4 separate regions of the Homo sapiens genome follow, and all the other regions are linked to region 2. The links are contacts of gene promoters, found by promoter capture Hi-C in human tissues and cell types (Jung and others, 2019). All regions are on one chromosome and are shown on one strand. The core of a region is centred on a gene start or on the middle of the fragment in contact, and the rest is flanking DNA. Distances in the headings are between cores, read along the strand shown.

What was found. The method cuts DNA at HindIII sites, captures the fragments that hold promoters and counts their contacts. A contact is called where the count stands out against the background at its distance.
Region 1: a contact is called between a fragment that was not itself captured here and the fragment with the promoter of GSTA4 in region 2, in 1 of the 25 tissues and cell types used here (spleen).
Region 3: a contact is called between a fragment that was not itself captured here and the fragment with the promoter of GSTA4 in region 2, in 1 of the 25 tissues and cell types used here (mesendoderm cells).
Region 4: a fragment that was not itself captured here is called in contact with the fragment with the promoter of GSTA4 in region 2 in 1 of the 25 tissues and cell types used here (liver).

What each region holds. Positions count from the first base shown.
Region 1 is chr6:53,166,521-53,173,735 of GRCh38, forward strand. No RefSeq gene overlaps it. Among named protein-coding and RNA genes, the nearest start is that of GCM1, 21 kb to the left of the region's middle. The HindIII fragment of the contact is 8,076 bases long and covers 1,453-7,215 here.
Region 2 is chr6:52,989,843-52,996,620 of GRCh38, forward strand. It overlaps GSTA4 (glutathione S-transferase alpha 4), which reads right to left and starts at 5,442. Exons shown (of 7, transcript NM_001512.4): 1 at 5,407-5,442; 2 at 4,315-4,419. The coding sequence starts at 4,401. RN7SK (RNA component of 7SK nuclear ribonucleoprotein) reads left to right here and starts at 5,778; the gene lies at 5,778-6,109. RefSeq lists silencers at 5,363-5,594, 5,926-6,015 and an enhancer at 5,546-5,765. The HindIII fragment of the contact is 14,338 bases long and covers 1-6,778 here.
Region 3 is chr6:52,810,981-52,818,062 of GRCh38, forward strand. It overlaps the pseudogene GSTA6P. Among named protein-coding and RNA genes, the nearest start is that of GSTA1, 11 kb to the left of the region's middle. RefSeq lists an enhancer at 4,602-4,651. The HindIII fragment of the contact is 8,412 bases long and covers 1-6,138 here.
Region 4 is chr6:52,860,678-52,867,605 of GRCh38, forward strand. It overlaps the pseudogene GSTA11P. Among named protein-coding and RNA genes, the nearest start is that of GSTA5, 23 kb to the left of the region's middle. The HindIII fragment of the contact is 6,606 bases long and covers 1-4,820 here.

The sequences.
Region 1 (7,215 bases), core at 4,241-6,740, 180 kb after region 2:
ATGGAAGAGAAGAAAGCCAGTTGGCTCACAGACTTAGTGCCTGGATTTCCCAAGTACCACGAAGGAAAGACTTACATGACACTAAAGCACTGGCTGAATGTTGAAGGGCTGAGCAGTTGGGTCATTCTCCTGTATCCACTCATAAGACAATAGCCCTCCCCGACCCGTAAGAGATCTGAGGATTGTTCTCTTGGGAAGCTGAATAACCAAAGCTTTGGATTTGGAAAAGTTCTGAATTTAGGGACATAAAGAACAGGGAAGGCCAGGCATGGTGGCTCATGCGTGTAATCCCAGCACTTTGGGAGGCCAAGGCAGGCAGATCATGAGTAAGGAGTTCGAGACCAGCCTGGCCAACTTAGTGAAACCCTGTCTTTACTAAAAATTTATAAAAATTAACTGGGCATGGTGGCGGGTGCCTGTAATCCCAGCTACTCGGGAGGCTGAGGCAGGAGAATCGCTTGAACCCGGGAGGCGGAGATTGCAGTGAGCCGAGATCGCGCCACTGCACTCCAGCCCAGGCAACAGAGTGAGACGCCATCCCCACCCCACCCCCATAAAAGAGAAGGTTGGGAAGAGCACCAGACTGAATTCAGCACGATGAAAGTCTCCTAATAAACTGTGGGGACCACAGTTCTTTTCCCCATCCTGTCCTCAGAAGATCAGGGGTAAAGCCTGCCCTGGACACCACTGCTGGCTGTAGGAAATGAATGATCCTTCTTTTCTGCAAAAATGGAATGGCCTTAGAAATAAGAAGTACAAATAGCTTAGGGCTCCCCCATGAAAAGGGTGGCTCACTGATTGATTCCCTAATAGGGAACCCACTAACTCATCAGTAAGTCCCACATAGAACTTCAAATCTGCTTATTAAAAAATGACCTCACTGTCTTAAATAGGAACAAACAGTCCAGGAAGACTACACATTTGGGAAAAGTCTCCAACATAAAAGAGATTTAAAATCAACCAACTAACTAAGCCTTGGAGGAAAGAGAAATATTGCAAGAAGATGCAGCAATGATGCCATTAAGGTCCTTGAGAATGGAGCAACTGAGATACAACAGGGGAAAAAAAAAACACAAAACATCAGAAACCAAGAAAGGGTTCTGGGAAACTGAAACTGTAAATATAACAGTGTAAATAAAAAATTCATAGTAAGTAGGGAAATTAAATCAGGGAATTCCACCAACCGGAAGATTAAATAAAAAGTCAAAGGGGGCTGGGCACGGTGGCTCACGCCTGTAATCCCAGCACTTTGGGAGGCCAAGGCAGGCAGATCATGAGCTCAGGAGCTCGAGACCAGCCTGGCCATCATGGCGAAACCCCATCTCTAATAAAAATACAAAAATTAGCTAGGCATGGTGGCAGGAGCCTGTAATCCCAGCTACTTGGGACGCTGAGGCAGGAGAACTGCTTGAACCCGGGAGGTGGAGATTGCAGTGAGCCGAAATCACACCACTGCACTCCAGCCTAGGAGACAGAGCAAGATTCCATCTCAAAAAAAAAAAAAAAAAAAAAGTCAGAGGGAAGAAACACAGAAAACAAATTTAGAGGATCAGGGCAGAAAGTCCACTCAGCTAAAATTAAAAGCTGCCCACGAAATCATTGAAAGTGGAAAAAAGAAATGAATGAAGTGATACAATACATTTTCTTGATGGACATGAGACTCCAGAATGAAAGTTCTACTGAGTGCTCAACACAGTAAGTGAAAAAAGACCTGCCCTGGACATGCCACTGTGAAAGTTCAGGACACTGGGAATCAAGAGAAAACATTCTTAAACTCCCAGAGAGAAAAAGGAAATTATAAGCAAAAGGTGGGAAATCAGAATTTCACTGGATTGTTCAAAAGCATCAACTTCAGAAAATGAGAAGAAAATGGCGTAATGCTTCCAAAATTCCAAGGGAAAAGTATGTTCAACCCAGAGCTGCTAGAGTGAGCCACGATTCTGGAGTGACCCATGTCAGTTAAGTGTGAGGGAAGAATAAAAACATTTTGAAACATACAATGGCTTTGAAAATTCACTTTCTGTGCACTGGAAGCTACTGGAGGATATGTTCCACCAAAATGGGGGCAAGTGAATGAAAAGAAAGCATTCCAGAGAGCAAGGAAGAAAAGCTCAGGATGTTCCAGCAGGGCAGGAATGCAGAAGGCCATATTCATGAACAAAGAATCTGGGAGAGAGGTCATGATGGTTAATTTTTTTTAAGCTATGATGATTAATTTTATGTGTCAACTTGGCTAGGCCATGATACCTAGATATTTGGTCAAACACCAGTCTAGACATTGCTGTGAAGGTATTTTTAGATGAGAGTAACATTTAAATCAGTAGACTTTAAGTAAAGCAGATTATCCTCCATCACGTGGTCTCATTCAATAAGTTGAAGGCCCTAAGAGCCTTCAGAGACTGACGACCCTCAAAGAAACAGAAATTCTGCCTCTAGACTGCCTTTGGAATGAAGCTGCAGCAGCCGCTCTTCCCTGGGTCTCCAGCCTGCCAGGCTGCCCTGCAGATTTTGGACTTGCCAGCCTGCACAATCATGTGAGCCAATTCTTCAAACTGAATTCCCCTCTCTCTCCACCGCCCCCACACACCCTCACACTGCTCCCCCTTCCCACAACACATACTCCCTTAGTTCTGTTTCCCTGTAGAACTCTGACCAGTACAGAAGTACATATAGGAAAAAAATGGAAAGCAAAGCTTTGTGAATATAGAAAATATTATTGCTGGGCATTGTGGCTCATGCCTGTAATCTTAGCACTGTGGGAGGGTACGGCTGGTGGATTGCTTGACCCCAGGAGTTTGAGACCTGTGCAACATAGTGACACCCCTGTCTCTACAAAAAATACAAAACTTGGCTAGGTGCAGTGGCTCATGCCTGTAATCCCAGCACTTTCGGAGGCCAAGGCGGGTGGATCACCTGAGATGAGGAGTTCGAGACCATCATGGACAACATGGTAAAACTCCATCTCTACTAAAAATACAAAAATTAGCTGGGCATGGTGGTGCATGCCTATAATCCCAGCACTTCGGGAGGCCGAGGCGGGTGGATCACCTGAGGTCAGTTCAAGACCAGTCTGGCCAACATGGCAAAACCCTGTCTCTACTAAAAAATACAAAAGTTAGCCGGGTGTGGTGGTGGATGCCTATAATCCCAGCTACTTGGGAGGCTGAGGCAGGAAGAATTGCTTGAACCCACAAGGCGGAGGTTGCAGTGAGCTGAGATTGCACCACTGCACTCCAGCCTAGGCAACAGAGTGAGACTCCATTAAAAAAAACAAAAACAAAAACAGAAAAAAATACAAAACAGTGTAGGGCATGGTGATGCATGCCTGTAGTCCCAGCTACTTGGGAGACTGGGGTGGGAGGATCACCTGAGCCTAGGATGTTGTGCCTGGGCAACAGAGTAAGACTCTTATCTCACAAAAAAAAAAAAAAAAAAAAAAAAAAAAAAAAGAGAGAGAGAGAGAAAGAAGAAAAGAAAGGAAGGAGGGAAGGAAGATCATTGCTCAATGTGTGTCAGAGAGTCACAAAATTAAATTAATTATGGATACATTGAAAAGCAGGTAAATGAAAAAATGAGGCAATTATTAATTCCAGGAAAAACAAAGAATCATATCTTAGCAATGAACAATATTTGTCAAAGTAGTGTAAATGCCAACCACTAACTAACGAAAATATTTATGTAATTACCTTGGGAGGGGCAAATGAATCAGTAAAGTCTAAAACTAACAAATTGAGAAACACAACATGAGCATATTATTCAGAAACACGGAGATAAATGCTTAGGGAAATTCCTAAAAGAGATAAGGATAATTTTCTGTGGGTGTAGGGCTATGAGATAAGAAAAGGCAGTTAGCTGGCCAGGCGTGGTGGCTTATGCCTGTAATCCCAGCACTTTGGGAGGCCGAGGCAGGAGGATCACCTGAGGTCAGGAGTTCGAGACCAGCCTAGTCAACATGGTGAAACCTCATCTCTACTAAAAATACAAAAAATAGCTGGGTGTGGTGGTGCATGCCTGTAATCCCAGCTACTCGGGAGGCTGAGGCAAGAGAATCACTTGAGCCTGGGAGGCAGAGATTGCAGTGAGCCAAGATCACGCCATTGTACTCCAGCCTGGGCAAGAAGAGTGAAACTCCATCTCAAAAAAAAAAAAAAAAAGAAAAAGAAAAAAAAAGAAAAGGCAGTTAGCTATCTGCAGTTTTTCATGACAAGCCTTTTTCACTACTCGAATTTACATGCAGGTATTGCTTTGATAAAAAAAAAAAAATAACTGAAAAATATTTGCCCACTTGTAGCTCTGTCTCTTTTGGGCTGTAGTGTCAGGTAACTAATTTGATATATTAGCAAAGTAAAGCCTGATATATTGTCTAGCCCTATCAGATAATTTACTTAATTTTTCTTTTCTTTTTCTTTTTTCTTTTTGAAACGGAGTCTCGCTCTGTCGCCCAGGCTGGAGTGCAAAGGTACGATCTCGGCACACTGCAACCTCTGCCTCCCGAGTTCAAGTGATTCTCCTGCCTCAGCCTCCTGAGTAGCTGGGATTACAGGGGCCTCCTACTACGCCTGGCTAAGTTTTGTATTTTTGGTAGAGACAGGGTTTTACCATGTTAGTCAGGCTGGTCTCGAACTCCTGACCTCAGGTGATCCGCCCACCTCCGCTTCCTAAAGTGCTGGGATTACAGGCGTGAGCCACTGCGCCCGGCCAATTTACTTGATTTTTCAAGGGCTCCAATACTTCTATGCTAAAACGACTAATAGTAAAAATTTTAATCAACACAGGAAATTAGTGTGAAGAGTGGGGAATATTTGAGGTTTCCGAAACCAAATCACTGGGCAATGCATACATTATCCAGAGCCTAGAGCATCATGGATTCTCAATTAACATCTAATGGGATGTGTGACAGAAGAGCACAAAACTCATTACCCTGAGTGTGGTACCCTATCTACGGGATAGGATATTGGGGGCAGTGTGGACCCTTGCATCTAAAATATTTCCTGCATTTGTATTCCACAGATGCTTGAAATTCAATGATAATTTCATTTCATTGGTCCTCAAGGGTTTTTTGATATTTAGAGTTGTCTGCTAAGATGGGAAATTTCTCAGGAAAGGAACACCCCTTAGAAGGGGGTAATTTGCTTGTTACTGAGAATAAGAAGTGAACCAGGTATGGCAGCTGTGCCCATAATCCAAGTCACTTGGGAAACTGAAGCGGGAGGATAGCTTGAGCTCAAGAGTTTAAGTCCAGCCTAGGCAACATGGCAAGGCCCCCGTCTCTAAAAAAATAAAATAAAATAAGAGAAAAGAAATTTCTATTAAAAACTTATTTTAAAAATAAGTAAAATAGAATAAGAATGGAAAAGTGAAGGGTAGGCAAGGGCAGAGGTAATGGCCACACAGGACTAGCCTTCGGCTTGGTCATCTTTTCTACCAGTCACCAATCCAGGGCACCGAGAAAGTCCAGCAGCGCCTGAGCCTGCTGCACTTGCAGTAGCAGGGACTGGCCGGGAGATGGCAGCCCTGTCCCAGGTCGGGTGGTGCCTCAGCCGCAGTTCCTGTCACGGCCATCGGGAGGCAGTGCAGGAACACTCACTGATGTGTAGCAACTCAGCCTAAAAAGCAGTTTTTATTATAATACATTGCTGCTGTGATAAGCACTCAGCAAATATTTGTTTGAGTGAGTTGACTCTATGTCAGTCATTAAGATCACTCTCTTGAATGCACCCTCAACACCTTTGCAGGTACCACAATCCTGGGTCATCACTTTAAACCCATGTCCGTGAATGTTACCCTGTATCCCCGCCGTCCGTTCATTCTCACACTGTTTCACACTTGCAACTCACTCAGCTAAGCTCCGACACCTCACTCTGCTCATGGCCTTGCTTTCCAGTTCACTGAGAAAACGAAGCAGATAGACGGAACTTCACAGCGCCCTACCACGACCACAGGTCGGCCTTCCTGCCAGCGAAGGTAGGTGAACTGTCCTGGCTCCTAAGGGCAACCCTTCCCGTGCCCTAGGTAAAATCCCTTCTCACTTCCACGGAAACATGACTCCAGAAAATTTTCACGACCTTTTCCCCCACGTCATCAATTTTCCTTTCTCTACTAGCTTATTCCTATTAGCACAGAAACCTGCTGTTATCTATCCCATCATTATTTATCATTCCTCTTGGGCCCCAATTTTCTATCAGCTATGACCCTATTTCTGTTCTTTTTTCCAGTAATTCCTGGGGTTTTCCATACTTACTGATATTCACCAACTCCAAAGCCTTCCCTGCTATTCTCGGCTACACCCACTGTAATCAGCTTTTGCTCAGACCGTTCCAAAGGAACTTCTCTTGACCTCTGCATCACTTACATCCATTAGTCAACCCTGTCCTCATCTTCACTTTATCTATAAACAGCACTTGATTGCTAGCTCCTCACTTCACCGATCCTCAGGGCACCATCAACTGGCTTCTCCTCCCCTCTTAGTTCTTTGTGGAGTCTGCCTTTTCTCCCCAATCTATCCTTACCAAGTTGTCTAAGGCATGGTCCTTGCACTTATTTATACCTCTGGCTCAGACAGAAGTCTGAGCTCCATACTCAGCTCAGACAGAAGTCTGAGCCCCATACTCAGCTCAGACAGAAGTCTGAGCCCCTGAGCTCCATACTCTGATACCTAACTGTTCAACTTCTCTGCATGACCATTTAATCGGCCCCCATACTGTTATCCTCATATTCCCCTGCTCTGCCCACAGTCTTCCTGTCTCAGTTAATGGCTACCCATCCTTCCAGGCTCTCAGGCCAAAATCACTGCAGGCATCAGTGACCACTTTATTTCTCTCACACTCCATATCAGCTCCCTCAGGAAATCCTGCTGGCTGTACCTTTAAAATATATTGGGATTCAAGCCGGGTGTGGTGGCTCATGCCTGTAATCCCAGCACTTTGGGAGGCTGAAACAGGTGGATCACTTGAGGTCAGGAGTTTGAGACCTGCCTGACCAATATGGTGAATCCCCGTCTCTGCTAAAAATACAAAAATTAGGCTGGGCATGGTGGCTCATGCCTGTAATCCCAGCATTTGGGGAGTGTGAGGTGGGTGGATCACCTGAGGTCAGGAGTTTGAGACCAGCTCGACCAATATGATGAAACCCCGTCTCTACTAAAACTATAAAAATTAGCCAGGTGTGGTGGCATGCACTTGTAGTCTCAGCTACTCAGGAGGCCGAGACAGGAGA
Region 2 (6,778 bases), core at 4,192-6,691:
CAGAAAGGGTTATTTATTTATTTTTTCTTAGAGGTCTGTCACACAGGCTGGAGTGCAGTGGCTCAATCACAGTTCACTGCAGCCTCAACCTCCTGGGCTCAAGGGATCCTGCCACCCTCAGCCTCCCAAGAAGCTGAGATTATAGGCTCAAGCCACCACATTTAGCTCAGAAAGTTTATATGATATATGCAGGGACAAGGTGCTCAACTGATGCTCCCAGTTAATGGTAGAAATGGTGTAAATCCTCCACGTCTCAAAGGGGATTTGCCTGGGTTTTAAGGGGTCTTCGGGCAAGTAAAGTTCCAAGCATGGAAGAAACAACCAACATAGAGCAATGTCAATGATGACTCAAATTAAGTGACTGACCAGCATTGAGAACTCCCTGAATTAGAAAAGGCTGTTTTTCAGTAGGTTTTAGTGACCTAGTTACTCAGATGTGTGTGCTTCAACTTTAGGTTCAACCCAATCGTGGGATATTGAGAATCATGGACTTGTCTGGTGGCTGCCAGCTGGTCCCTCCCGACTGTCTCAGATCTATGTGAGCACAAACTTAGCTGGCAAAGAGACGGGGAGGGCCCCTCCCCACCACCTTGTAAACCATGTGGTCACCCTGGGAGAGAGACCAATCTAGCTTCATCCAGTCTGGTCTGAGGAGTGGGCTCATTACTCTACCTGATCAGCCTGTTCCTGTGATTGGACTGGGGTAGGTGGGTCAGATGACTCATGTTCTTTTTTTGTTTAACTTATTTAGGGTTGAGTTTTTATTACTGTAACTAAAAATGTTGACTCATAGGTGAGTAGGAGGGGCAGGGTAGAATGAAGAGAGAAGATTTGACAAAGGGTTATATTGCATACATATATAAGACATCCATTCAAAACCTATGAAATAAATCAAGAATTACAAACTCAGAAGCCTATGGGGGTTAGAAAAATGACAGACACAAGTGAAGTTGAGCAGGTTCAGGGGACCATGAATGTTTTTCACTTTCCTCTTAACAGTTAGCAAACACACCCTGAAACAAGAGGGCGAGGTGGGGCAGTCCTTATTCAGATCCAACAATTGCTGCCCTGTGAAAATGAGCTCAGGATCACCACATCTTCCAATTTCTAAAGACAAGTCAGAAATCAGAATTTGCATATGAAAATGATGTCAACTCATTTAGAAAATTGTAAAACACCATGTGGCAAGTTGTCATAGGCAAAAAATAAAAACAAAGAACAAACACAAAACGCATAACCCAACAACTCACATTTGCATCTTTGGAGGTTGCTAGGGCAACAACGCATTATTGTGAAAATTTATAATCAAGCATTTACCTCGCCTTTCCTATATGAAGCATATTTTAAAGTAATTAAATAGTTAATGAGTGACAAGTACTCTCTTAGAAGAGAATCACAGTTCATAAACATAGGTGAAATGATGGAAATTGAAAGAATTGCCATTTTGTAATCCCTAACAATGATGATGATCAATAGCTAGTAAAACCACAAGTTGAAAAGAATATGGGAGAAACTATAATGTGTGGATTGGGGTTGATATCACAGGAACACACCGATGAAGGTCGGCATCACTGAAAACGAGACAACCCCTGATGTGATACAATAGAAGTGTGTTCACAGTATCTCTTCTGACATAGTCTGGCAGGGAAAAAAAAAGTTAAAGAGAAAGAAAAAAGGAGCCTGAAGTGATCATGCCTCTGGGTCCAGCTAGTAATTTATGGGAAGTACAGAGAATAGAGGAGCATGTTAAAATAAAGGTATCCTCACTTTACCATGTTACCTCAAGGCAACACCTGGAGGGTAAGTAAACCAAATCCAGAATAGGGAAAATTCTACAGGGCAGTTTCTTCCAAAAATAAATGGCACTAGAAACAAACGTAGACATCTAGCACCCAGATCTTGGCTATTAATACCTTTTTTTTTTTTTTTTTTTGAGATGGAGTCTCGTTCTGTTGTCCAGGCTGGAATGCAGTGGGGCAATCTCGGCTCACTGCAACCCCCGCCTCCCAGTTCAAGCGATTCTCCTGCTTCAGCCTCCTGAGTAGCTGGGACGACAGGCACATGCCACCACACCCAGCTAATTTTTGTATTTTTGGGAGAGACGGGGTTTCACCATGTTGGTCAGGCTGGTCTCGAACTCCTGACCTCATGATTTGCCCACCTCGGCCTCCCAAAGTACTGGGATTACAGGTGTGAGCCACCGTGCCGGCTGGTTAATACCATTTTTCTATTGAAGAAATTCCTGATTCTAGGGCTAGGGAAGGGAAAATATTAATACAAGATGAGCACAGAGCATTTTATACTGTCAGAAAGTGCTGAGAACAAAAAAGAGGCCAATCTGAAATAAAAAAAGGTAAACCTGAAAGAGCACCAGTGGCTAAAGCTGAAACAATTTAGGCAATTTAAGTCATCAGACTATAATCTAAAATATAAAATCAATATACTTAGGTCTATAGTGACACAAAGAATTGAATAACTGAAGAAATGAGTGGAGATAAATCTTCCTTATATAAAAATTCCAAATGTAGATACTCCCTCACCCAGGAGGTAGAGCTTAATTCTCATCATTTTGAATGTGGGCTGGACTTCATGATCTGCTTCAGAAGAATACAAGGAAACATAGTAACTTTAAAATGCAGCAACCTGGCAGAGACTACCTTAACCATGTGATCCAGGTTAATACTGCCAGTGACAACTCATGTTGATACGTAACCCCTAATATGATGACGTGAACATACTTCACCTCTGTGGCATTCTTTCCCCAAACCCATAACCTCAGTCTAATCATGAAAAAAACAAGATAAACCCAATTTGTAGAGGATTCTACAAAAATATCTGACCAGTGCTTTTCAAAACCGTCAAGATGGTAAAATGAAGGAAACGACTGGGAAATTGTCATGGATTGTTGGCAACTATGGAAACAGGATGAATAAATATAATGTTGGATCGCGGGATAGTAAAAGGACATTAGCAAAGGGCCGGGCGTGGTGGTTCACACCTGTAATCCCAGTACTTTGAGAGGCCCAGGTGGGTGCATCACTTGAGGTCTGGAGCTCAAGATCAGCCTGGCCAACATGGAGAAACCCTGTCTCTACTAAAAAAATACAAAAATTAGCTGGTCGTGGTGGTGTGCACCTGTAGTCCCAGCTACTAGGTAGGCTGAGGCAGGGGAATTGCTTGATCCTGGGAGGCGGAGGTTGCAGTGAGCCGAGATCACACCACTGCACTCCAGCCTGGGCTACAGAGCCAGCCTCCGTCAAAAAAAAACCCAGAACATTAGTAGAAAAAACAGTGAAATCTGAATAAAGTCTGTAGTTTAGTTAGTCATGCACCAATGTTAATTTCGTAATATGACATGGTGATGTAAGATGTTATCATTAAGGGAGACTGAATGAGGGACTGTATTATTTTACAACTTTTCTATAAATCTGAAAATATTCCCAAATATAAATTTGTAAAAAATGAAGAGGAAACTTACAGGTTTTTAAAATACCGAAAGAAACATAACCATTTTAAATGTAATGCGTAGACCAATGTCTAGATCCAAACTAAAACAAACTATAAAAACAAACAAACAAACAAAATGCCTGTTTGAGACAATCAGACTGAAGGTTAGATGACAAAGAATTGCTAATTTTGTTGGATGTGATAATAATATTGTTACATTTTAAAATCCTCATCTGTTAGAGGAAAATGTTGAGGAACTCCCAGATGAAATGTTATGATGTTTGGATTTTGCTTTAAAATACTCCCACAAAACAAGGGAAGGGAGGTGATAGATGAAACAAGATTAGCATAGAGCTGATGATTGCTGAAGTCGGGTGATGAGTACATAGAATTCATGGCAATGTTCTCTCTACATTTATTGGTATTTGAAAATTTCCATACTAAGAAGCTAAAAGAACAGAACGAAAACAAAAACAGACACACACACATATGTAAGCAAGATACCAAGGCTGCCAGTTTGAAGCCACTGAAGAAAACAAGAAATTTACCCTGAGAATGCATAATTAATAAGAGCTCAGAGTAACTGACAATTTTCAGGTAAATTTCCTTTCTTCTTATTAATAAATATTCACTGGTGCTAGATCAGAAGCCAATAATTAAGTAAAAGTCAAAAGGAAAATAGAATTCCATCAACTACGTTCTAATTATAAAGAAAAATCCCTTCAGGGATGGTATCTGACTCAGTGAAGCGTGCCTGTGATTTTGGTGGACGAGAACTAGAACTGAACGGTGCTTCAAAACGTATTTTTCTTTCAAAGGTCTCAAAAGCTGTATGACAAATCCGTGAAGAAACAGCATATAAGGTACCTCGACTCCGGCGGCAGCTAAAACCCATCTCACGGACTCCATCCGGCCTCTTCCGTTGGGATAGTGGAGCTTGGGCCTTGCTGCCATGATAGCTTTTCAGGCTTTCTGAAATACAAATGCAGCAGCTCGTCGCAGACCAACAGTCCCAATTTCGCGTCTTCAACCCAGTGCTCAGGGGCGAAATGAATATTCAGGATTTTGGCACGGGAAACTGTTCTTTATTTTTGTTGCTGCATTTTCCCTCACTCAAGAAAAAAAAACCACCATTTTAAAACATGGAGAAAAAAACCTTGGCTTTTATATGATTTCTATTTATGACTTCTTATCCTGGATCTTGGGAAGCTGGGGCCATTTGTTGTAAAAACATATGTGCTAGCAGTACGGGATTTCACAAATTCAGAATATTATATATTTTGACCTCGAGAATCTCAGATTTTCCAAATTCAGCTGGGGGATAGGGGGTGGCAGGCGTTGAAGAGGGTAGCGAAGGAAAATCGCACAGCCACTGGAAGCTCTTCAAGTATTCATGCTTTTACATACATCATCATATTTTATTATCACGGCAACTGGAAGGTGAACAGGCCGAGTACTACTACTGTCTGCAAAATGTGCGTCCACCGTCACGCATGCGGTGGCTGCGCCCCCCGGGTCCCGCGTGTCCACCACCCCTACAGGGAGATGAGCCCCCGGCCTTGTAAAACGAGCCGGGGGCCAGGGCTTGGCCATCTGAGATCGCACTCTCCCATGCTCGTCTTCCCCGCTCAGCCCATGCAGGGGCGTAGCGGCAGCCCAGCCAGGCCCGGGGACGATCCGAGCCCACCTTCCACCAATGCATTCAGACTCCGCAGAAGGGGTTTAAAAAAAAATACGCACACTGAGCCAAGAAGGACCCCAGCTCCAGCCAAGGGGCCCACCTCTGCCCAGACTGGATGGAGCAGGAGGACAAAGGACAAGAGGAAGAAAAGACAAGAGAAGGACTGAACTGGGGGAGTGAGGGAAGAATGCGAGAGTGAGACTCAGAGAGTAAAGGGGAGGGAAAAAAAAGAAGAGAGAAAGGGCGAGGAAGGGGGCGACCGCAGGAGGGAGACAGACCTGGAGTCCACTCGGAGGCCTGGAGCCGCACAAAGCGCCAGGTCAGCGGTCCCGGCTGGGTGAGACCAGCAGGCGGCTCTAGCGCGCGGGAGCTGGGCGAGGCTCCGGGACGACCTCACCAATGGAGACTGCAGTATTTAGCATGCCCCACCCATCTGCAAGGCATTCTGGATAGTGTCAAAACAGCCGGAAATCAAGTCCGTTTATCTCAAACTTTAGCATTTTGGGAATAAATGATATTTGCTATGCTGGTTAAATTAGATTTTAGTTAAATTTCCTGCTGAAGCTCTAGTACGATAAGCAACTTGACCTAAGTGTAAAGTTGAGACTTCCTTCAGGTTTATATAGCTTGTGCGCCGCTTGGGTACCTCGGATGTGAGGGCGATCTGGCTGCGACATCTGTCACCCCATTGATCGCCAGGGTTGATTCGGCTGATCTGGCTGGCTAGGCGGGTGTCCCCTTCCTCCCTCACCGCTCCATGTGCGTCCCTCCCGAAGCTGCGCGCTCGGTCGAAGAGGACGACCATCCCCGATAGAGGAGGACCGGTCTTCGGTCAAGGGTATACGAGTAGCTGCGCTCCCCTGCTAGAACCTCCAAACAAGCTCTCAAGGTCCATTTGTAGGAGAACGTAGGGTAGTCAAGCTTCCAAGACTCCAGACACATCCAAATGAGGCGCTGCATGTGGCAGTCTGCCTTTCTTTTGACCCATTACCCATCTAAGTTAGATGCTTTTTTAAATGTTTTTTAATTTTTAAATTTTTAATTTTTTTCATTATTTATTTTTTATTTTTGAGACGGATCTCGGCTCACTGTAACCTCCACCTCCCGGGTTCAAGCGATTCTCCTGACTCAGCCTCCCGAGTAGCTGGGATTACAGGCGCGCGCCACCATGCCCGGCTAATTTTTCTATTTTTAGTAAAGACGGGGTTTCGCCATGTTGACCAGGGTGGTCTTGAACTCCTGACGTCAGGTGATCCTCCTGCCTCGTGCTGGGATTGCAGGCGTGAGCCACCGCTCCCGGCCCTTAGATGCTTTTTAATCAGCAAGTACGCAATGCTTTCCTGACAGGAATGTCAAGTCCGTCAGGAAATCCACATAAGGGTGTTAAGCAGGCAAAGTACCACATACAGATTAAAATCAAAAGCACTGTCAACGCTTATTTAATTTATACAGTAGACCCTAACTTTTCTAATTTTGTGTATACATATATATACATGTATACATGTATACAAACATACATATTTTCTTCTTTCTTTCTTCATCTCAGTGGGACATCTTGAGATTTCTCTTCATTTTGTACATTTTAGAGACAAGTGCTCTATAGTCACGGTCTCAAGTCAGCACCTGTTTGGAAGGGGGTCTTTGGAGTTG
Region 3 (7,082 bases), core at 683-3,182, 180 kb before region 2:
TTTTGCCATGTTGGCCAGGCTGATCTTGAACTCCCGACCTCAGGTGATCTGCCTGCCTCGGCCTCCCAAAGTGCTGGGATTACAGGCGTGAGCCACCATACCTGGCGAATACTTTTAAATAACAGCTTTATTGACATGTATTCACATACTATAATTGCCACCCCTTAACAGAATATTATTCAGTAATTTTTAGTACATTTACAGAATTCTGCAAATACTGTCACTGTCTAATTCCAGAACATTTTTATCACCTGGGAAAGCAGTAGCACATGCTTTGGCAGCCATTCCCCATTGTCCCCTTTCTCCAGCCCCTGTCAACAACTGATTTCCTTTCTGGACTCAAATGGTCTGGATGGTTCATACAAAAGAATTCATGTTACATGTGGCCTTTGGTGTCTGGTTTCTTTTATGGAACATGTTTTCAAGGCTCACCCATGTTGTAGCATGCATCAGTACTTCATCCCTTTTCATAGCCCAAGAATATTCCATTGTCTGCTACAGCACAACTTGTTCCTCCATTCATCCATGGGTGGACATTTGGGTTGTTTCCACCTTTTGCATAGCATGAATAATTCTCCTATGAACATTTCTGTGCATGGATTAGTGAGGATGTGTTTTCCTTTCTCCTGGATGTAGACCTGGTAGTGGAATTGCTAGGTCATTGGTAACTCTATATTGGACTTCTCAAGGAACTGCCAGCAAAGGAGGAGACCCCTCCTCCCAGCTTTGCTGATGCAAAATCAGTCTGGCTGCTTAGGTCTGTATCAAATGCTGCACTTTAGGTAATCCTGGTATCTTGGGCACCAGCCTCTCAAACCTTAGTCAAGTGGACCAGTTCATACAACTGGCTGGAAACTTAGGTTCCTGGTCACCATTCTTGGAATTACTGGAACCTGAGATTCAGCTCCTTTGCAGCATTCTCTCCCCAGGCCTTCATCTACCGACTCTCAAACATTCTATGCCTTGTCCTAAGCTGTTGGCTGGAGTCCAGCCTCTGAAGTCCCGAGCACCTGGAATCATGATTCCCCATCCTCCTGAGTTCATGGTTCATCAGCGTTTGGAAACCTTTGTCAGGGTGCTGGATCCATAGGCTGCATTGTCTTCTAGAATCACACTTGCCTGAACCCTCCCCATATTCACTCTTTTCTCATCTCCATGGGACTCTGCAATACTGGACACCAGCGTATATGCCCAAGGCCCAGCCTGCTGCTAGTCGTGATGCTCCTTCCACGGTCCTGCCCACTCACAGAAGGACCGAAATCACTCTGTGTTCTCTGTTGATGGAAGAACAAAAAATATACTATATGGGGCTCTCTCCTTTATGTCTTTCCCACACAGGTTGTATTTGCTGGCAATGTAGTTGAGAATGGCTCTGGTCTGCATCAGCTTCATCCCGTCAATCTCAACCATTGGCACTTGCTGGAAGAACAAACTCCCATCTTTAGAAAATAGAAAAAAAAAAAAAGGCAGAGTGAAATTTCTATGAATCCCACCCTTTCAGGATGAAAAAGTGGTTGTGGAAATGACTAAATGTATAAAATGAAAAAAAAATTGCCTGGCAACTGTTCAAATGAAATAGGAACTTATTTTTAGCTTCTGGAAGTGCTTTTTCTTATCAAGCGTTCTTTTACTTTTTATACTGTTACTTCATTTATGTTTTTATTTCCCATCCAGCTACAGAATAGGTCGCTTGTATTGTCTGTGTTGATTTATTTTCATGATATCTTAGGAAGAAGTTGGGAGAGACTGCAACAGGTCACCAGCCAGATGCCATTTAACATGGGAATTTCTCAAAGTAAGTCTCATGCTGTTGAAGACATTAAACACAGTTCTGAGAGAAGCTTCTATGTAGGCTCTTTGTGTGCCCTTCAATACCCCCATTAGACAGTGTGTGCAGGGCAGGCTCTGTGTTTCTTACCCCATGGCTTCTACCCTGGCTCATGTCCCTCCTCACCCTGTGACCTGGACTTCCAACCAAGTCAACACTGTCTCATTATCTAAGCAGACAATATTGCAAAGATATCACCTTGTCAAACTTATAATAGAAACAATTCAAAATGGACCTATTTCAACTCCTTTTGTCTAAAACATGTCCTTGCGTGTCTTTGGATGGGGTGGGCTATATGAGATCCTGAGTTGATGACCACAGCTCACTCATGGTGCCAAAAGCAGGAAAGCAAGAAAAGGGATCCTCAGAGTGCTGGAGATGGTTCTCCAGCAAATACAAAGAGAAGTCTGGCCCTTTTTAGCCTGGAAAGAGTTGCCAGACCTGCTCTAGGAGCCCATCCTTTCCATTTTATGATTTTCTCCCTCTCCACCATCACCAACTACAACCCTACACACATGTAAGCATTGCTGGCTGTTCAAACCTCCCTGTGTACCTTCTACTAGATACCCTCCTCAGAGGCACTTAGAGACTTGATCTTACTATTTCTTAACTTTTCCAAATCTTTTGCAGATTCCAGAAATTTCTCTTCAAACTGGAAGCAGAAACAGTAAATGGGCTCTTATTAATTCATTCCATAGCACTGTAGACCTTTAACCTTGAATGGCTTCTGGCTGGTACATAATTTGGAAAATATAAGATTTCTGAGCTTGGCAGAGCACACAGAGGAGGCTGGTGGTGGCCATTTTGAAATTTACACTAGATCATCGAGAAAAGGGCATGGATCACAGCACATAGTCGCTCAATCTTCTAGTTCACTTTACTTCCACCTTGATCGCTCCCATGTCCATGATTAGGTCATGATTTGAGAGGGGATGTCACTGCAGTTAAAGGATCATGCAGTTCTTCTAATTATGATGTTGTCATATCTTAGGAAAGCATATGTCTCTGAGTGAGATCAGACCACAACCTTTGTGACCCCAGCATGGGTATGCCATAGGCCAGTGGCCACCAAAGATTCTGCCACCAAGGGCCCTCTGCTATAATTTACATCAGCTTAGTTTGTAGGAGCCCTGCTAAAGTTGAAATAGGTCATAGCTGTTGCACAGTTATAACTCTTGCAATTATAATTTTCCCTCCTGGAGAATATGGGACACAATAGAATAGAATTCTCAATTTCAGGAAGGAATTAAAGTCCCCACAGTAACATTATTTTTAATGAAAATCTCTGGCTTGTGACATGGCTGTGTGGGTTTAATATCACTGTTGTCATGTCCTGGCTTCTTGACTTTGGACACATTGTTAAATCTCTCTGTGTCTCAGTATCCTAATCTATGAAATGGGAATACTTATGGTACCTATGTTATAGGTTGGTATGAAGATTAAATTTCAAAGTCATGCAAAGCACTCAGAAAAGTAGCAAGTGTGTAAGTGCTCATTAAACATACACTATTAGGATTCTGAAGTATGGCTGCTATTTCATATCATCCTTAAAAAAATTAAATCAATCTAATATTGATGAAAATATACTCTATTGCTGATCTATATCAGTGATTTAAACTTTGAAATAAATCACACCTTGTCCTGAGTGTAGTCACTTTGGTTGGAATGGCAGCCAGCAATAAGGCTGTCTCAATCTGATCAGAAGCTCTGAGTGGATGCAGGTATTTAATACAACTATGAAAACCAGTTATTGCATAACAATGCAGTTGACTTAATAGGCAGAATCTATAAAAATAAAAGTCAAAGTAGACACTTACCAAGATTTCCTGTATTTCACTGTTGATATGATCTGGTACCAATCTTGACTCTGCCTCAAAATAGCTGTGTGATCTGGGAATCATCACTTAACATCTTCAAGCCTTAGTTTCCTCATCTGCAAAATGGGGATAGAATATTTTCTTAAACAGAATATTGTAATGTTTTCAAAATGCATGATACAGGGCCTGACCCGCGTGCATCAACATCAAGTAATAAATGGTAGTTGTGTTTGCAGTGGTTACTTATAGTTTAATGGAGTTCTTTACGGTGAAAGTTCAGGAATTTGGGGGTTTCTAGCTTGCTCCATGGAACAGTTTGTTGTGGATCTATGATCGCACAGGACCAGGATGTGGAGATCATGGGGGGTGTGTGCCAGCAATTAATAAAGCGTCCAATTCAGGACAAACCTAAGGAACGGTGGGTGGTCCTGGCAGGAGGGTGACCGAGGTGGGGTGGGATTGGCAAGTGGGATGTGCTTGTGAGGCTGAGGACTGGGTTGTGATCATCAGCCTTAGGGCACTGAGACCCCAGAAGCCTGAGCAAGGTCTGCAGTCAGCCCTGCCCCCGCCTTCAGTCAAGCTGGTTGGAGGCCAGGGAGTCTGGGTTCCTCCCAGCCTTGCCCCTCCCTCCCTCCTGCTGAACTCTTCCTACCCGGGCTCTGAACACATCCCTGAGCTGTAGAGCTGATGTCTGGGTGACAGGGTATTCATTCATACAAAGAAAACAACCTGGAATGGCAGTGTTTGGATTTCTTGTGTGCTTATTTCTTCATAGGATTGAGAAAGGGTGAGGCTAAAGTCCCAGGCCCTCGTGAAGCAATGAAGAAAGTGCCTTCCCAAGGTTCAGGCCCACACGGCGCTGTGAGGCTGAAGGGGCGCGCTAGAACTTCCTTTCACAGGATGCCACCTCACCTGAAACCCTCCTTTTCGGCTGCCACCCGAGGGACAAGATCTCCTGAGTCTGTCCATGAGTTACCCCGAGGAAAACCCTCAGGCAGCCCCTGAGGGACTCTGTTCTGGACTTGGAAGTGTTTTTCTCAGTGACACCTCTAGAGGGCAGCACTCAACGGAGTCCCACAGACACCTCCCAGCATTTCCTGCTCAAACACTGGAAGGATGACCTGGTAACGCTGGGGACTGCTTGGGTGTTCTCCTGGAAGCTCCTGATTTTAATCACCTGTTTACTTGTCTCCATTCTTATAGGTATGTAGGCTACTCGAGAGCAGGAACTGAGTCTGTCTCGTTCACTGTCTATCATCAGAACCTCACACAGCACCTGGCACTTAGTAGGTGCACAACAAAATAATCATCGAATTAATATACTCAGTCTTTAACAGGTTATTTGTTATAATCCACTGCCTTCCACCTCTCATGTGTGGTATGCATTTTAACTTTACATTCACTTCCTGATATACATTTTATCCCCTTATTACATAAATTTCTAACATGTATAAAAATAACACAAAAGTATCACGACCTTCCTTGTATTCCTCTCATAGAATCAGTAACTACCAATGTTATTGAAAAGAGTCAAACTCTGTAAAATATTTGGAGATTTATTCTGAGCCAAATATGAGTATCTAGTGCCTGAGATACAGCCCTCAGGAGATTCAGAGACCGTGTGGTCGAGGTGGTGAGGGTACAGCTTAATTTTACACATTTTCAGGAGACATGAGACATCAATCAAATATATATAGATGTACATTGGTTTGGTATGGAAAGGAGGGATACTGGAAGTGTGGGTTTCCAGGTTGTGTGTAGATTTAAAATTTGTCTGATTGGCAGTTGGTTGAAAGGGTTAAGTTACTATCTAACCACCTGGAATCAATAGAAAGGAATGTCTAGTTTAGGATAATAAGGGGTTGTAGAGAACAAAGTTTTACCCTGCAGATGAAGCCACCTGGTAGCAAGTTTCAGAGAAAATGATTGTACTTGTTTCTTATCAGACTAAAAAAGTTTGTTCTGTTAGTAATTCCAAAAGAGATGAGGTATAATGAGGCTTGTCCAACCCCCTCCACTTCCCATCATGGCCTAAATTCATTTTTCAGGTTAGCTTTGGAATGGCCTTGCTGAAAAGAGAGATCCATTCAGATGGTCAGAGTGAGGGAGGGAGCTTAGAATTTTATATTTGGTTTACACCAACTAAAGCCAATGTGTTTTCATATACATGCCCACCCACTTCCCCCATCTTGTAATAATGTAAGGAAATCCCAAATACCGTATATTCCATCCTTAGATACTTCAAAGTGTTTCCCTAAAACATAAAAACTATGATTCCAGCAAACCAGTCTCAGATTCCAGCAAACCAGTCTCATGTGCCCATTGGTTAAATGTGACCATTCTCGCCATGCTAAGAGGTGCGAGTATGTGGTAATAATGAATGTAGGGAAGTTAGTGGGAAGAGGAAGAATTCAAGAACTAATATTTATTGAAAACTTTCGACTGATCCTTCCTTCCCCAATGCTAGTCTCTTTCAATATGTTATATCTTGACTCCTCCTTATAGTCCCATGAAATGCTTGTTATTATCTCCATTCCTTAGTTAGTGAAATGGAACATCAGAAAAGTTAAATGCAATGTCCGCTATCACACTCCACGTGGTGATGAACTTGAAAATCCACACCCAGGACGAAAATGAAGGTAGGCCTAGAACCCACCCAGGTGAAGGCCCTGAGAACCCATGAAGTGGCTGTGAAACCAGAGGATGTCACTGACAAGGAGGACCACCTCTTTGGCTGTTAGGCTGAATTTGATGAAAAGCAGAAATTAGGCCTCAGGCTTGCTTAACTGTAGCTCGAAGAACCAAATTCTTTCAACAGACAGAGGACCCTAATTTCTTGCTTCTTTTGGTTTTCTGTATTCCACCTCTTTGGGGTGCATTTTGTTTTATAACCTGGAAAAACATGTTGCCTCATCAACTTTGCAGGCTTGAATAGGAGATAGTATCTATTCAGCATCAGTCACACACTGGCCATTCCTCCAAATTTATCTTCATTTTATCTTACAAAAATCACCTAAGTTGAATGTTATTATTATTCTCATTTTACAACTGGTGATACTGAGATTTTTAAAGCAACTCGTCCAGAGTAAGTGGTGAATCTGGGATTCAAACCCATTGCTATTCAAAACCAATGACTGAGCCTTATTTTCTGTTAGTGTTTCTCAAATATGTATGCTAATTTTCCAGAAAATTGTGAAAGCTACATATTTTTTAAAGAAAATAGGAAAGAATAAAAAAATACCAGAGAGCATGACATGCTGGAGAGTAAGTAATGTTTCATGAGTTTTTAGTTTCAGTTACATGTATGTTATGTGTATGGATATTTGCATGTGTGCACGTTCATTTGGCCATTGCAAATGGTTAGAGATAAATTCACTAGGGATCATCAAGGAAGTTTGTTGGCCCTTGCTCTATCCCAGCCTGCTTGGGAGGTGGAG
Region 4 (6,928 bases), core at 268-2,767, 130 kb before region 2:
ACTCTCTGTGTCTGAGTATGCTAATCTATGAAATGGGTAAACTTATGGAACTTATGGTATAGGTTGATATCAAGATTTAATTACAAGGTCACACAAAGCACTTAGAAAAGTAGCAAGTGATAGTAACTGCTCATTAAATATAAATTTTGGGGGGTGGAGCCAAGATGGCCAAATAGGAACAACTCCAGTCTAGAGCTCCCAGCGTGAGCGACGCAGAAGACAGGTGATTTCTGCATTTCCAACTGAGGTACCGGGTTCATCTCACTGGGGAGTGTCAGATACTGGGTGCAGGACAGTGGGTGCAGCACACCGAGTGTGAGCCAAAGCAGGGCGAGGCATTGCCTCACCTGGGAAGCACAAGGGGTCAGGTAATTCCCTTTCCTAGTCAAAGAAGGGGGTGACAGACGGCACCTGGAAAATCGGGTCACTCCCACCCTAATACTGTGCTTTTCCAACAGTCTTAGCAAACAGCACACCAGGAGATTATAACCCGGGCCTGCCTCAGAGGGTCCTACGCCCACAGAGCCTCTCGCTCATTGCTAGCACAGCAGTCTGAGATCAAACTGCAAGGCGGCAGCGAGGCTTGGGGAGGGGCGCCCACCATTGCCAAGGCTTGAGTAGGTAAACAAACTGGCCTGGAAGCTCAAACTGGGTGGAGCCTACCTCAGTTCAAGGAGGCCTGCCTGCCTCTATAGTCTCCACCTCTGGGGGCAGGTCATAACGGAACAAAAGGCAGCAGAAACCTCTGCAGACTTAAATGTCCCTGTCTGACAGCTTTGAAGAGAGTAGTGGTTCTCCCAGCATGTAGCTTGAGATCTGAGAACAGACAGACTGCCTCCTCAAGTGGGTCCCTTACCCCTGAGTAGCCTAACTGGGAGGCAGCCCACCATAGGGGCAGTCTGACACCTCACACGGCTGGGTACTACTCTGAGACAAAACTTCCAGAGGAACAATCAGACAGCAACATTTGCTGTTCACCAATATCCACTGTTCTGCAGCCTCCGCTGCTGATACTCAGGCAAACAGGGTCTGGAGTAGACCTCTAGCAAACTCCAACAGACCTGCAGCTGAGGGCCCTGACTGTTAGAAGGTAAACTAACAAACAGAAAGGACATCCACACCAAAACCCCATCTGTACGTCACCATCATCAAAGACCAAAGGTAGATAAAACCACAAAGATGGGGAAAAAACAGAGCAGAAAAACTGGAAACTCTAAAAATCAGAGCGCCTCTCCTCCTCCAAAGGGGCGCAGCTCTGCACCAGCAACAAAGCTGGACAGAAAACGACTTTGACGAGTTGAGAGAAGAAGGCTTCAGATGATCAAACTACTCTGAGCTAAAGGAGGAAGTTTGAACCCATGGCAAAGAAGTTAAACACCTTGAAAAAATATTAGACGAATGGCTAACTAGAATAACCATGCACAGAAGTCCTTAAAGGACCTGATGGAGCTGAAAACCACGGCACAAGAACTACATGACAAATGCACAAGCCTCAGTAGTCGATTTGATCAACTGGAAGAAAGGGTATCAGTGATGGAAGATGAAATGAATGAAATGAAGTGAGAAGAAAGTTTAGAGAAAAAAGAATAAAAAGAAATGAACAAAGCCTCCAAGAAATATGGGACTATGTGAAAAGACCAAATCTACATCTGATTGGTGTGCCTGAAAGTGACGGGGAGAATGGAACCAAGTTGGAAAACACTCTGCAGGATATTATCCAGGAGAACTTCCCCAATCTAGCAAGGCAGGCCAACATTCAGATTCAGGAAATACAGAGAACGCCACAAAGATACTCCTTGAGAAGAGCAACTCCAAGACACATAATTGTCAGATTCACCAAAGTTGAAATGAAGGAAAAAATATTAAGGGCAGCCAGAGAGAAAGGTTGGGTTATCCACAAAGGGAAGCCCATCAGACTAACAGCTGATCTCTCTGCAGAAACTCTACAAGCCAGAAGAGAGTGGGGGCCAATATTCAACATTTTTTTTTTTTTTTTTGAGACGGAGTCTCGCTCTGTCACCCAGGCTGGACTGCAGTGGTGGGATCTCGGCTCACTGCAAGCTCCTCCTCCTGGGTTCACGCCATTCTCCTGCCTCAGCCTCCCAAGTAGCTGGGACTACAGGCGCCCGCCACTACGCCCGGCTAATTTTTTGTATTTTTAGTAGAGATGGGGTTTCACCGTTTTAGCCGGGATGGTCTCTATCTCCTGACCTCGTGATCCGCCCCCCAAGGCCTCCCAAAGTGCTGGGATTACAGGCGTGAGCCACCGCGCCCGGCTAATATTCAACATTCTTAAAGAAAAGAACTTTCAACCCAGAATTTCATATCCAGCCACACTAAGCTTCATAAGTGAAGGAGAAATAAAATCCTTCACAGAAAAACATATGCTGAGAGATTTTGTCACCACCAGGCCTGCCCTACAAGAGCTCCTGAAGGAAGCACTAAACATGGAAAGGAACAACCGGTACCAGCCACTGCAAAATCATGCCAAATTATAAAGATCATCGAGGCTAGGAAGAAAATGCATCAACTAATGAGCAAAATAACCAGCTAACATAATGACAGGATCAAATTCACACATAATAATATTAACCTTAAATGTAAATGGGCTAAATGCTCCAATTAAAAGACACAGACTGGCAAACTGGATAGAGTCAAGACCCATCAGTGTGCTGTATTCAGGAAACCCATCTCATCTGCAGAGACACACATAGGCTCAAAATAAAGGAATGGAGGAAGATCTACCAAGCAAATAGAAAACAAAAAAGGCAGGAGTTGCAATCCTAGTCTCTGATAAAACAGATTTTAAACCAACAAAGATCAAAAGAGACAAAGAAGGCCATTACATAGTGGTAAAGGAATCAATTCAACAAGAAGAGCTAACTATCCTAAATATATATGCACCTAATTCAGGAGCACCCAGATTCATAAAGCAAGTCCTTAGAGACCTACAAAGAGACTTAGACTCCCATACAATAATAATGGGAGACTTTAACACCCCACTGTCAACATTAGACAGATCAGTGAGACAGAAAGTTAATGAGGATATCCAGGAATTGAACTCAGCTCTGCACCAAGCAGACCTAATAGACATTTACAGAACTCTCCACCCCAAATCAACAGAATATACATTCTTTTCAGCACCACACCACACTTATTCCAAAATTGACCACATAGTTGGAAGTAAAGCACTCCTCAGCAAATGTAAAAGAACAGAAATTATAACAAACTGTCTCTCAGACCACAGTGCAATCAAACTAGAACTCAGGATTAAGAAACTCACTCAAAACCGCTTAACTACATGGAAACTGAACAACCTGCTCCTGAATGACTACTGGGTACATAATGAAATGAAGGCAGAAATAAAGATGTTCTTTGAAACCAATGAGAACAAAGACACAACATACCAGAATCTCTGGGACACATTCAAAGCAGTGTGTAGAGGGAAATTTATAGCACTAAATGCCCACAAGAGAAAGCAGGAAAGATCTAAAATTGACACCCTATTATCACAATTAAAAGAACTAGAGAAGCAAGAGCAAACACATTCAAAAGCTAGCAGAAGGCAAGAAATAACTAAGATCAGAGCAGAACTGAAGGAAATAGAGACACAAAAATCCCTTCAAAAAATCAATGAATCCAGGAGCTGGTTTTTTGAAAAGATCAACAAAATTGATAGACTGCCACCAAGACTAATAAAGAAGAAAAGAGAGAAGAATCAAATAGATGCAATAAAAAATGATAAAGGGGATATCAACACCAATCCCACAGAAATACAAACTACCATCAGAGAATACTATAAACACCTCTATGTAAATAAACTAGAAAATCTAGAAGAAATGGATATATTCCTTGACACATACACTCTCCCAAGACTAAACCAGGAAGAAGTTGAATATCTGAATAGTCCAATAACAGGCTCTGAAATTGAGGCAATAATTAATAGCTTACCAACCAAAAAAAGTCCAAGACCAGATGAATTTACAGCCGAATTCTACCAGAGGTACAAGGAGGAGCTGGTACCATTCCTTCTGAAACTATTCCAATCAATAGAAAAAGAGGGAATCCTCCCTAACTCATTTTATGAGGCCAGCATCATCCTGATACCAAAGCCTGGCAGAGACACAACCAAAAAAGAGAATTTTAGACCAATATCCTTGATGAACATCAATGCAAAAATCCTCAATAAAATACTGGCAAACCAAATCCAACAGCACATCAAAAAACTTATCCACGATGATCAAGTGGGCTTCATCCCATGCAAGGCTGGTTCAACATATGCAAATCAATAAACGTAATCCAGCATATAAACAGAACCAATGACAAAAACCACATGATTTTCTCAATAGATGCAGAAAAGGCCTTTGACAAAATTCAACAACACTTCATGCTAAAAACTCTCAGTAAATTAGGTATTGATGGGACATATCTCAAAATAATAAGAGCTATCTATGACAAACCCACAGCCAATATCATACAGAATGGGCAAATACTGGAAGCATTCCCTTTGAAAACCTGCACAAGACAGGGATGCCCTCTCTCACCACTCCTATTCAACATAGTGTTGGAAGTTCTGGCCAGGACAATCAAGCAGGAGAAGGAAATAAAGGGCATTCAATTAGGAAAAGAGGAAGTCAAATTGTCCCTGTTTGCAGATGACATGATTGTATATCCAGAAAACCCCGTCGCCTCAGCCCAAAATCTCCTTAAGCTGATAAGGAACTTCAGCAGTCTCAGGATACAAAATCAATGTGCAAAAATCACAAGCATTCTTATACACCAATAACAGACAAACAGAGAGCCAAATCATGAGTGAATTCCCATTCACAATTGCTTCAAAGAGAATAAAAGACCTACGAATCCAACTTACAAGGGATATGAAGGACCTCTTCAAGGAGAACTACAAATCGCTACTCAATGAAATAAAAGAGGATACAAACAAATGGAAGAATATTCCATGCTCATGGTTAGGAAGAATCAATATCGTGAAAATGGCCATACTGCCCAAGGTAATTTATAGATTCAATGCCATCCCCATCAAGCTACCAATGACTTTCTTCACAGAATGGGAAAAAACTACCTTAAAGTTCATATGGAAGCAAAAAAGAGCCCACAATGCCAAGTCAATCCTAAGCCAAAAGAACAAAGCTGGAGGCATCACGCTACCTGACTTCAAACTATACTACAAGGCTACAGTAACCAAAATAGTATGGTACTGGTACCAAAACAGAGATATAGACCAATGGAACAGAACAGAGCCCTCAGAAATAATGCCGCATATCTACAATTATCTGATCTTTGACAAACCTGAAAAAAATAAGCAATGGGGAAAGGATTCCCTATTTAATAAATGGTGCTGGGAAAACTGGCTAGCCATATGTAGAAAGCTGAAACTGGATCCCTTCCTTACACCTTATACAAAAATCAATTCAAGATGGATTAAAGACTTAAACGTTAGACCTAAAACCATAAAAACCCTAGAAGAAAACCTAGGCAATACCATTCAGGACATAGGCATGGGCAAGGACTTCATGTTTAAAACACCAAAAGCAATGGCAACAAAAGCCAAAATTGACAAATGGGATCTAATTAAACTAAAGAGCTTCTGCACAGCAAAAGAAACTACCATCAGAGTGAACAGGCAACCTACAAAATGGGAGAAAATTTTCGCAACCTACTCATCTGACAAAGGGCTAATATCCAGAATCTACAATGAACTCAAACAAATTTACAAGAAAAAAACAAACAACCCCATCAAAAAGTGGGCAAAGGATATGAACAGACACTTCTCAAAAGAAGACATTTATGCAGCCAAAAGACACATGAAAAAATGTTCATCATCACTGGCCATTAGAGAAATGCAAATCAAAACCACAATGAGATACCATCTCACACTGGTTAGAATGGCAATCATTAAAAAGTCAGGAAACAACAGGTGCTGGAGAGGATGTGGAGAAATAGGAAGACTTTTACACTGTTGGTGGGACTGTAAACTAGTTCATCCATTGTGGAAGTCAGTGTGGTGATTCCTCAGGGATCTAGAACTAGAAATACCATTTGACCCAGCCATCCTATTACTGGGTATATACCCAAAGGACTATAAATCATGCTGCTATAAAGACACATGCACACGTATGTTTATTGTGGCACTATTCACAATAGCAAAGACTTGGAACCAACCCAAATGTCCAACAGTGATAGACTGGATTAAGAAAATGTGGCACATATACACCATGGAATACTATGCAGCCATAAAAAATGACGAGTTCATGTCCTTTGTAGTGACATGGGTGAAATTGGAAATCATCATTCTCAGTAAACTATCGCAAGGACAAAAAACCAAACACCATATGTTCTCACTCATAGATGGGAATTGAACAGTGAGAACACATGGACACAGGAAGGGGAACATCACACTCTGGGGACTGTTGTGGGGTGGGGGGAGGGCGGGAAGGATAGCATTAGGAGATATACCTAATGCTAAATGATGAGTTAATGGGTGCAGCACACCAGCATGGCACATGTATACATATGTAACTAACCTGCACATTGTGCACATGTACCCTAAAACTTAAAGTATAATAATAATAAAAAAAAAAGAAAAAAGAAAGAAAATGTGGCACATATACACCATGGAATGCTATGCCACCATAAAAAAATGATGAGTTCATGTCCTTTGTAGGGACATGAATGAAGCTGGAAATCATCATTCTCAGCAAACTATCACAAGGACAAAAAACCAAACACCGCATGTTCTCACTCATAGGTGGGAACTGAACAATGAGAACACATGGACACAGGAAGGAGAACATCACTCACCGGGGACTGTTGTGGGGTGGGGGTAAGGGGGAGGGATAGCATTAGGAGTTATACCCAATGCTAAATGACGAGTTAATGGGTGCAGCACACCAACATGGCACATGTATAC